2 separate regions of the Homo sapiens genome follow, and region 1 is linked to region 2. Evidence: promoter capture Hi-C in 16 types of primary human blood cells and fetal thymus (Javierre and others, 2016). All regions are on one chromosome and are shown on one strand. Each heading gives the region's core, a stretch centred on a gene start or on the middle of the fragment in contact. The rest is flanking DNA. Distances are from core to core; before and after follow the strand shown. Region 1 overlaps LOC105374235 (a long non-coding RNA gene). Region 2 holds the start of TBL1XR1 (TBL1X/Y related 1).

Region 1 (5,860 bases), core at 39-2,538, 1.1 Mb before region 2:
CGGATGAGAGGCAGAAATTTCCTGAATTACTTTCTCATTCTCAGTGCATGGATGAGAGGCAGAAATGCTTTTTACCAGGTAGCCCCCTTTTCTCTGAAATCAAAACTTCCTTTTTGGGGAATAAGAATTACATTGCTCTCTCCTCCCACCACTATGAGACAGCATAGAGAAGACAAACAGAAAAGAAATAATTTGACTTCTGGAATCTCATCACTATAAACAAAGGCAGATTAAAACTGAATGAAAACTCAAACATCTAATCAATTTCCTGCTTCGTATGAAACATGATGTCAATTACCATGTCCTGACACATTCTGTTTCACAGTTATCAAAAATTAACTAATAACAGGTTTTATTAATTTCTGGTCAAATGAATATAGTTCATGCTAATTGTTTATTCATATATCACAAATGTATGGAGCTTTTACTAAACTATTAAGCTGTTACTATAATGTAAAACAACTAGTCTAAGCTGCAGAGAGATGGTTAGGTTTTGGAGGGAAGGAGCTGAAAATAAAAGATCCAAGATTTGCCCTTCTAGAATCTTGTGGTGGAAAAAAAAAAACATATAACTTCAGATACACATATCAAGGGAAATGATACATACAACAAAAACAATAGAACTTGACAACCATGTGATGACAGACTAATGGTTTGTATTTGGTCTAGTTGGAGCTCAGTGTTCATTTGTAGAATAGAGGAAGATGAAGCTTGTAAGGCAATTTGAAACCAGGCTGTGTAATCCCTTAAATAACTCACAGTTAAAAGGCCCAGCCTTCAAGAATAGGCTTTAATAATCAGAAGAAACTACCCTAAGTATAGTTAAGTGCAGAAAGAACCATATCCTTCTTCCTGTAGATAAGACAACTGACTGACCTTCAGCATTTTGCAATACTTAATACGGAAGTTACACACTAACTCAGGCGAACATCTAAACTTCATGCCTATGTATAGCTTGAAATAATCCTGAGCTTTTTATTATTTCTAGAATTCAGTTCATTCATGTGTCTGTAATGCCAATAATTGTACGTGTAGAATTCAGTGTTTACTTTTTAAAAATGAAATAGCTCTCCATATTATTCTGATGTACATAGGCCATAGACTGTGGTATTTGGGAAATGCCAGTTTTTTATATACATATATATATATATATTTCACACACACTACAGTGTAAACACATACATAAGACTTGAATAGATAATTGCTAAAAGTATAAAGCTGTATCTGGAATTCCTGTAAGTAAATAATTTTTCTAGAAATGATTTAATAATAATGCCTACAAGAGCTGTATCTCCTAAGAATGTTATGTATCAGACTTCAAATACCATATTATCCACTAATTCTTAGGTGTTTGACAATATTCTGATTAAATCTTTCTCTTTCTCTCCTTTTGGTGGGATCTAAATCAAAATATTGACAGAAACAATTTCAGAAGGGAAAATGGAAAAATACATAGGATAGTCAAAGTTGCATGCATGTCTGTGCATTTGCATGATTTACATTCTATTTAACTTGTGTGGTACAAAATACATAAGAATTTCAAGCACCTTTTTACTCCAAACTATGATTTTGGCAAGGCAGAGAGAGAAGATTTTACCACATAAAGTAGTAATGTTTTATTTGGTAATATTTTATGTTATCATGTAACCATTCACAATATAATTGCATAGACTCCTGTAACAACCTCTTCAGGACAAAAAAGGTAATTACTGAGTCAGATTAAAAGCAACTGATCCTTAAGCAGCCTTAAGAATAAACACATAAGCTACTAGTTTTATATCTATATTAATTCATCCATTTGTTCTTTCAACAAACATGTAACCAGGGACTCTTGTGTGCAGGAATTATTACATAGACCAAGCTTGTAATGACGGGAGACACGGGCCGTAAAGTTCAGCAACTGATAAATAGAAAATACTAGATTAAGAAAACCAAGGAAGAGTCTATGGGACAACAGGATGGCTTGGCTGTAACTACAAAGATTTTAGGTCTCCACTGCAGGCATGCCACTCTCAATTAAAAACAAGAAAGCAAGCAGAGCACACAAAAAAATAAGTATGTGAGGTGACGGGTATATTAATGAACTTGATTCAATCAGTGTATAATGTATACTTATGTCTAACCTCACGTCATGCTCCATACATATATACAATTATGATTTGTCAATTAAAATAAAAAATAAAAACAAAAAAAAGCCCCAAACAAGGAAACAAACAGAAGACAGTGAACTAGATATTATGTGATCTTGGACAAATGGTTCAATGCTTCTACTCCCTCAGTTTCCTTGTCTGCTAAATTAGAAAATATCCCTTAATTCACAGTTGTAAGAAGGATGAAATTGGATACTGCACATGAAAGCAGTTTGTAAATGATGAAATATTCCTCAAATGTAGACTGTCATTTCCGTTCCTGTTTCATCGTTAAAATTGGTTTTTAGGAGCACAAGGGACCAAGCCTGAGGAGGCATCAGGTATGTAAAAAAGTTACCCTTTGTAGGACAAACTGAAACAAAGTTCTGTTTTGGTGAGAGTAGAAAGGTGTGCAGCATTGTGAGGAAGGACATATAGATGACAATAATTCTTATCATGGTAGAAAATAAGTATTCATAAGGCAGCATAGAAGCAGAAGGCAGAGAATCCATTTATCAAACTTTTTTTGTTTCTTTATCAACAGTGACTTGGAAGACCTATCAGTTTGTCAGTGCATTCATTGAGCTAAATGCATAAAATCCTCCCTTCAGACATAACAAAAGCATGAACAAAATCAGTATTCTGGCAGTATTAGTAGCATTTGACTTGACAAGCTGTGTGGGAAGCTACTTGTCAAGGCCCCGTGATAATGAAAATGGCTTTCTTCACATTACAAAGATATTACTTATCTCCTATAGTTTGAAAAGCTATAAAAATTTTTGCACTTTTCCTATTTACATTCTAATCTTCAACATATGTTTAAGTGCATGACATTTTGTTTCTGCTATTCTTGCCAGAATATAGGAAAGGACGTGTGGGTTGCTGTTACTTTTTGTTTTAGGAACAAGTCAAAACGTGGTTGCCTGTAACTTTAAAAAACTTTGTAAAACTTTAAACTTCTTAGTTGTGACTGTTGAGCATGTTTTCCTCAGCCTGGAGACAGTGATAATAAATTTCAGATGTTTACTATGTATGACACTGATAAGGAGGCTTCCAGATACCAGACTTCTGTGAAAGCAGAGTCTCGCCAGGAACAGGGGTGGAAAAGGGCACCTGCTAGTTTATTTGAAAGTAAGCAGCCTAAGAAACAAAGTGTAGTTAATGTTTTTTAAAAGCAAGATCAAAGGAATGGACCCATGAAAGAGGCTTTACACTAAGTGTTTTTTGGAGTATTTTCCTTTTTTAGAGGAAGGCTTTTTGTTTCACATGGCTACCATTTCTTTTTTTTTTTTAAATGATCATGTGGTTTTTTGTTCTTTATTCTATTAATATGGTATTACATTAATTAGTTTTTGGATGTTAAACTGACATTAAATGCCTGGTATAAATCCCACTTGGTCCTAGTGTATAATTCTTTTTTTTTTTCACTTTTGAAAAAGAACAATTTTATTGAGGTATAATTTGCACATTAAAATGCACCCATTTTATGTGCACATTTGATGACTTTTGGCGTATTTATACACCTTAAATCTTCAGCAATATAATTGTGAATTAATCAATATATAGAACATTTCTATCATCCTAAAAAGTTCCTTGTGCCCTTATTTAATTTTCCATGCACTTCTGGTCCTAAGTATCCATTGATGTGCTTTCTGTCATAATAGATTTTTCTTTTTTATACATTCATATCAATGAAGTAATATATTATGTACTCTTTTGTGTCTAGTTCCTTTCAGAACAACATAAGAATATTGAGATTCGTTCATATCATTATACATGGCTACCATTTCTATGTGGGTGAGAAGTGCATTTTAAGAAAGAGTATCATTTAGTTCAGTGCATCCCAGATGATCTTTCTACAAATTGCTACTGTTTCTTAATGTTCCAAGCTGTGAAAATCATTGACAGAAATGAATATATAAGTAAATAAATTTTCAAAATGATCATTTAATAAGTCTTATTTAACTCTACCCATTTTCTGCAAGAAAAGTAAACTTAGTCATGAATGCACTAAGGTTTTACTAAAGTAACTACATCTTATTAGATGCTCAGTAAGTGCCAGCTAACTCAATACATTATTTGTCTTTTATTTATTGCTGCATTGAATCCTAAAAACATATATATGGGTTAGCACAAGATAAGGACATAGGAATTCAGGACAGAATTTGAGCAAGTTGTCTAGAGTCATGCAACTTCCTAGTAGTGGACTAGTAATTTGAACCTAGGTTACACTGACAACAAAGACAAAACCACAACACATTAAGCATTTGTATGGACTTATAAGAAGACTATAGCAAATTCTGTTAACATTATTCTGCATAGCATCCAATTTTTTAAGCACTAAATCATATAGATAGATGTAAGTCCTTTCAAGTTGTTAATATTAGTTAGAATTTTAAAATTTACATGGTATCTAGACATACATACATACATATCATTTAAACAAATACAGATACATCTTATATTCTTTTGCAATATCCATTGTTCTTCCTTTCACGGAGACCATGATTATTAGTATAGTATATTGTGTTCCAGTCCATTGTTATATTTTTAATCCATAACCAATTAAAACATATTTTTGTACATGCGTTTAGTAATATTTACATAAATATCCTGTTTTCCTGTTTTTGTTTTGCAACTTTGTTTTAAAATTTTTATTTCACCTTATATTTCTGTGATTTATCCATACCATAATTATTTTAACTATTATATAGTTAATGCTGCATGGTGTAAACACTCCACTAAAATTTTTCATTTCCTTATGGATAGCCCTTTCTGTTTTTCCTGTTATATTTATACTATTGATTTCTAGTTTGCTTTTATTGTGGTTGGAGAGAATACTCTCTTGAGATTTGTTTTATGACCCAGCACATGACCTATCTTTGTATATGTTTGGTGTGAATATTAAAGTAATGTGTATTCTGCTGTTGGTAAAGTGTTTTATAAGTGTCACTTAGATCCTGTTGTTTGATGGTGTTTAATTACTTTATATCTTTGCTGATTATATATTTGTTATATAAATTATTGAATGGAAAAATTTGAAGTCTCCAACTGTAAGTGTAAATTTTTAAAATCTCTCCTTTCAGTTCTATTAATTTTTGTTTCATGTATTTGGTAGCTCTAGTATCTGTACATACACATTTAGGATTACAATGTCCTCTAGGTGAATTGACACTTTTATTATTATGTTCTATCCCTCCTCTGTCTTTGGTAACTTTCTTTGCTCTGGAGTCAACTTTATCCATTATTAATATAATTTCTAATTTCCTTTGATCAAGTTTAAGTGGCATATTTTTTCCAATCCTTTAATTTTAACCTGCCTACGTTGCTATATTTTAAGTGAATTTCCTCAAGACCACATACAGTTGGGTGATGTTTTTTCAATTTACTTTGTAAATATCTGTCTTTCAATTGGTGTAATTAAGTGATTTACATTTAACGTAATTATTGGTATGTTAGGGCTTACTCTGACATATTTTTTTCTTTCTGTTTTTCTCTTCTGTTTTCTTCTTGCTGCTTTACGTTACTTCAATATTTTTATAATTTTATTTTTCATTTATTTATATTGCTTTCAAGTATATCTCTTTTTGTAACTTTTTTAGGTTTCCTACTTGGCTTCCACTGACACCTAAGGAAGGGTGGGGTGGAAGTTCCAGGTCCCTATGTTCCAGGTCTCCACTGACACTGTGGTTAGGGTGGCTTCCTTATCACCACCTTGACTTTCTACTAGG
Region 2 (5,789 bases), core at 2,930-5,429:
TTGTTTTGAATACTTTATGTAGATGAGCTAATGTAAACAATTTAAAACATCATGATGATTTAAAAATATATATAGTAATGAGACCCTGTAGTCCTGGGATTGAAGCAGTTTCAATTTAAAATGTTCCATGTCTTTAGCGATGAAAGTTGCAAATGTGTAGGCTATCTTGCCATGCCACACTCCTCTCGGAAAAATATTACTGAAATAAAACAAGTCAGGATTTGTTTTTTTTTTTTTTTTTTTTTTGAGATGTAATCTCACTCTGTCACCCGCCCAGGCTGGAGTGCAATGGCAAGATCTCGGCTCACTGCAACCTCCCCCTCTCGGTTTCAAGCCATTCTTCTGCCTCAGCCTCCTGAGTAGCTAGGATTACAGGCATGTGCCACCACGCTCAGCTAATTTTTGAATTTTTAGTAGAGACGGGGTTTCACCATGTTGGTCAGGCTGGTCTCGAACTCCCGACCTCGTGATCCGCCCGCCTCGGCCTCCCAAAGTGCTGGGATTACAGGTGTGAGCCACTGCACCCGGCAAAACAAGTCAGGATTTGTTTAGCCATTTTACAATATATAGTAACTTCTGATAACAGTTACTGGTATGAGGTTTCTCTTCATTGAGTAATTAGCTAGAAAATTCAAGAGAGAACTTTTTTTTTTTGAGACGGAGTCTCACTCTGTCGCCTAGGCTGGAGTGCAGTGGCACTATCTCGGCTCACTGCAACCTCCGCCTCCAGGGTTCAAGCGATTCTCCTGCCTCAGCCTCCCAAGTAGCTGCGATTACAGGCACCCGCCACCACGCCCGACTAATATTTTGTATTTTTAGTACAGACGAGGTTTCACCATGTTGGCCAGGCTGGTCTTGAACTCCCGACCTCAAGTGATCTGCCCACCTCAGCCTCCCAAAATGCTAGGATTACAGGCGTGAACCACCACACCCAGCGGAGAACTTAATGTGTTCCTTTGCTTTACAATTTCTTAGTAATACAGTAATATCTCCTTTCTAGAAACACATTAACATTTAATTCAAAGTGTAATGGGAGTGTTAGATTAGGACAAAGTACTGAATATTAGTAACAATAGTTCCTTCTTTGTCCTTTCCTCACCCAGTGAGTCTAATCATTGCTTGTATTTTGGTGCAGCCCTGATCCTTTATGCTGGATATGTTGGGACAGCTAGAGGGCGAGGCGACAATACATATGACCTTTGAGTGATGGTTTATTTCTCTGAGTATTTAACATTGAAGCCACACTGTTGTTTCAGATAGTTTCCAGAATATAAAAATCAAAGGGATCAAAATATGATCTGATTTAAAACCCCCTTTGCTGGAAGAATCAAGGCCTTTCCACATTTGGGTGCCCCTATTTTTGTTTGTTTGTTTAAAAACACTCCAGGCTGCCGGGCACAGTGGCTCACGCCTGTAATCCCAACACTTTGGGAGGCTGAGGCAGGCAGATGACTTGAGGTCGGGAGTTTGAGACGAGCCTGACCAACATGGAGAAACCCCATCTCTACTAAAAATACAAAATTAGCCAGGCGTGGTGGTGCATGCCTGTAATCCCAACTACTCGGGAGGCTGAGACAGGAGAATCGCTTGAACCTGGGAGGCAGAGGTTGCAGTGAGCCGACATTCCGCCATTGCACTCTAGCCTGGGCGACAAGAGCGAAACTCCACCTAAAAAAAAAAAATGTACTCCTGCTCTCTCCTCTCTCTTCAATTAGTATGATCCAACAGTGGTGAGTAAAGTACATTTTACTGCAACGGATTTGTAAGTCCCCAGCCTCGATGATCTTCATATTTAAATGCAGTCATTTACGCACAGAAATGTCTTGTAAACTACAGGGATATAAACAAATGCATGGATTATTATCATTGTGAGGAGGCTCAACTAACACTGAACAACTTTAGGAGGCAGCTTGGTGTAGGGTATAAGAACTTCAGGCTGGAAGACCTGATCCTATGAACCTGAAGGAGGGTGTCTCCTCCCTTGTGGAATAAGGGATAGAAGTCATTTAGGGGAAGGAGAAGGGGTGGGGTGGGCAGCTTTGAATATGACGCTTTAAGAATGGTATGGTTGAGAAGTCCTCACTCACTGAAAGTGGGGTTTGATTTTACAGTCACTGCTGTATGGAGAGGACCCGCCCGTGGTGGCACAATATGAAACTTAAAAAATAATCTAAGCCAATAGATATGTTTCATTGAGTGGCTCCACCGAGATAGTTTACTTACTGAAGACAGGGTATGTTTAGTGATATCTACGTCATTTATCAACTCAAAAAAAAAAAAAGGAAGATACTATATACTCTTTTCAATTCTGAAATAAAGTCTTCTGAAAGGTGTTAGTTCTGAGGTAAACAAGCCTCAGCTTTAGAATCCTATTGAAATGCAAAACTTGCTTTGTGCGGTTTCCCTGTACACTCTGCATAGTGTTTTGGAAACCTGCAGTTATCTAAATTCCCATCGGGTGACATTGTTTAATCCAACATTCCCACTTTCATACATGAAAATAGCTCTAAGGACACACCACTAATATGCTTTGAACTCTCTGGTGGTTGGAAGGGAGTTTCCAATCCCACTCCCTTTCCTCTGATGGTTTTCCTGCTCCCTGCCCCACTAGGTCATTCAGGAAAGGCCTCTGGCAGCTCCCCCAAGCAAGGGCTCAGGGGGGAAAGAGACATTGACCTTGGCCAAGAAAGCACCTGTCTAATTACTGAACTTATTAGGCCACCAGGAGTCCAGACTGGTGCAAGTTACGAGTAGTGTGTGTGTGTGTGTGTGTGTGTGTGTGTGTGTGTGTGTGTCGCAAAACTTCAGGTTTCTGATATTGAGAGGAAATGATGGTTGCTTTAAAGTGATCACTACATCTATTTTCAAATATTCTGATGAAAGTAGGAAAACAGAACCCTTCACCTTTAAGAAAGCTGCAAACATTATTTTGCTTTGAAGGCAGTAATAAGCGAAATAACAAAAAGGTTTCAAGTCGTATCTTAATGTAAAAGGGTGGCTGCTTCTCCAGTCCTGAGCTTATACAAAGCTCTAAAAAGCACCCTACCCCATCTTTCTGAAAGTCTTAGAAAGATTACCACCCCATTTGCTTTAAAACCTGTGAGGTGCCTCCCTTCTTTAAAAACAACCCTCCCTCAACCATACTGCCACATTATCACTCATCTAAGTTATACTTTATAAACCGCCTTGCTGTGCTTCACACATGCAAAAAGTACACAAAGTGGATAAACTTCTACTGTGGATGCCACTGTGCAGGTATATATTTAGTAAACATTTAGTTACATTATTTTATTTTTGTGAAATAAGAACTGATCGAGCAAACCTTTCAAACAGACCCACCAGATGATAAATACCACCATATGCTTGATTCACAGTACATTTGGGCATAAATACTTCAATTACAGCTTTGTGTTTAGTATCAAAAACCTTTTCTTGTGTGCGTGTTTTCTCTCCAGATCCCGTGCTCTGGATCACATTTTGAAAGTCGCTTATTACAGATAAAGCACCTTTCCAGGTACGCTTCGGAGAACCATATGTATTTACGCACACAAAGGTGTTCACAGAGATTTTCACAAACAAATGTCCATATGATGCCGCGCCGCACTCCCCCACATGCCCGCCGCGTGTGCGCCCAGCCCCCAACGCCGCCGGGCCGCCCCCCGGACACGCGGGAGCCCGCGGCGTCCTTGGGGAAACTTCGCCGGCGGCTCCACCCCGGCCACCGCGCGGGCCTCCCCGCCCCCACCCGTCTCGGGCCCAGCGGCCCACACCCGAGCACACCCAGGCCGGCCCGCGGCGGTGGGGGCGGGGCGGGCGGCCCGGGGCCCCGAGGCGCCTTCGAGTGCCCGCGGGGCTCGCCTGATTTTTAAAAGAATGCGCCGCACAGCCCAGCCCCCAGTGCCGCCAGAGCGGGCCGGGAAGGAGAGGAGCGCGGCCGCTGGAGCCCCCCCGCCGCGCCGCCGCCGCCTCCCGGCGTCCGCGGCGCCCCTCCCCCGCCGGCCCCTCCCCCGCGCGCCCGCCCGCCCGCTCGCCCGCCCGCCCGGCGCAGGCCGCTCGGGTTTGTTTTGCTGCGCGGCCGCCGCCGCCGCCGCCGCCGCGGGCCTCGCGAGCTCATTTGTGCCTGGCTGGTCCCCATTCCTCTCTCCCCAGTGTTGAGTGTCTGAGCCGTTGGCTGCTCCGAACCGTTTGGCTCTTTCCCTTAGTAACAGCTTTTACCTTCTGCCTCAATTCCTCTCCCCGCTCGCGCCCTTCCCCCGCGCGCCGCCTCCCCCCGCCGCCGGCCGCGTGCGCCCCCGCCCCTCCCCCCGCGGCGGGAGCACCTCCGCTCGCCACCTGGGGACCCGCGCCGCGCTCCCCGCCCCCGCCCGCCCGGCGCCCATCCCCCGCGCCCTCCGCTCGCTGGGGTTATAATTGCCTCTCACCCCCCGGAGGGGTTATTTTGGGGGTGGTTGGAGGCGGTGGCGGCGGCGGCGAGGAGGGGAATTTCCTTGTGCCTCCATTCCCGGGAGGGGGGAGCGGCGTTGGAGGCCACCGTTTCCAGGTAAGCGCTGGGGGCCGGACCCTGGAGTGGGGGCGGCCGGGGGCCTGGGCGGGGGGCGCGGGCCAGAGGCGGCCGGGGGCGCTGGGCCGCGGGGGGATGGGCGCGAGTGGAACATGCATTTTTCAACTTGGCCCTTGGGGGAACTGGGCTTGCGTGGGGGAAGGGAAGGCAGGGAGGGCACTTGGGGCGCCCCCATCCCCCCGTTTTCCTCTCTCAGGTTTCTTTGAAATGCTCACGTGCCTGCCCACCCCCCTACCCTTTCCCGGTCTCGGGGGATCCTCACCCTAATTATGTTGTCCCCGAAAATGTGCACCTCGGCCTTCTCCCCCTCTTCCTCCCTTCGTGCATTTACACCCCCTTTTTGTGCGTGTGTGTTTGGGGGGGGAGGCTTTCAGGAAAGGATTTGCAGCAAATTGAATCAAGGAGCCATCATGAGGCCGACTCCTTTATAGCCTATTTTTAGCAGAGGAGAAGGAGCTTTTCGGTGCATGCTATTTTGTGAAACCTCGGGCGGCAATGGAAATCTCCCCTCCCCGGGCGCGTCCCCGGCCCGGGCGCGGCGACCCCGGCCGGCGTGCTGGGGGCTGCGGGCGGCTGTTGGGGCCGCGCGTCCGGGGCGGGGGCGCCGGCCGGGGGAGGGGCGCGCGGCAGCCGGGCCTTGCTCCGGGACGTGTTTATTTGTAACTTAGTGCTTTTTATCGTCTTAAGGAGGTATTTGGTGGAGGCTCTTTGAAGTTGGGTTCAGGAGTGTAGAATTGGCAAAGTTATTGCCAGCTTCCTGGTAAGTTTTGGGTGGCACAGAGTCACGTTATTTTCTGACAGTGTAAAGGCCACGTTGTGAGGGTGGTTTCTCGGTAACTTCCTCTTTGCAACCGATTTAATTTTTTGAACAGAAGCAGACTTTTATTTAAGTGGAATATTAATCTTAAATGGCAGCTCGAGGGAAGCCATGCATGTGTTAACGTGTTCAGTATTTTTGGAAGTTCTTAATTTGCTGAAACAGGCATCACTTCGCAGTGGCAACCGGGATTAAATTTAGGTTGTGAAAATGGTGTATTTCATGTAAAATTTGGGTTGTGGCTTTTAAAAAATGCTCTCTTTGTTAGGTTATCTAAGTGTCTCTAAGATAATTTGGTGATTACAAATGAGAAATGTTGGAAACTAGTTAAAAATTAGGTGTTCTCAGTGTCTGGAGTTTACTTGAAATCTTGGACTGTGCAGGCACCAGGGGTGAAGAGTTTTAGTACCT

Evidence for each region. The method cuts DNA at HindIII sites, captures the fragments that hold promoters and counts their contacts. A CHiCAGO score of 5 or more calls a contact.
Region 1: a fragment that was not itself captured here is called in contact with the fragment with the promoter of TBL1XR1 in region 2 in 1 of 17 cell types (erythroblasts); the score reaches 8.1 in erythroblasts.

The regions. Positions count from the first base shown.
Region 1 is chr3:178,258,349-178,264,208 of GRCh38, reverse strand. All of the region lies in intron 2 of LOC105374235 (a long non-coding RNA gene), which reads left to right. Among named protein-coding and RNA genes, the nearest start is that of LINC01014, 160 kb to the left of the region's middle. The HindIII fragment of the contact is 1,151 bases long and covers 713-1,863 here.
Region 2 is chr3:177,195,872-177,201,660 of GRCh38, reverse strand. It overlaps TBL1XR1 (TBL1X/Y related 1), which reads left to right and starts at 4,179. Exons shown (of 16, transcript NM_024665.7): 1 at 4,179-4,540. RefSeq lists silencers at 3,588-3,967, 4,208-4,397, 4,508-4,607, 5,088-5,137 and enhancers at 3,585-4,092, 4,093-4,602. The HindIII fragment of the contact is 6,955 bases long and covers 1-5,789 here.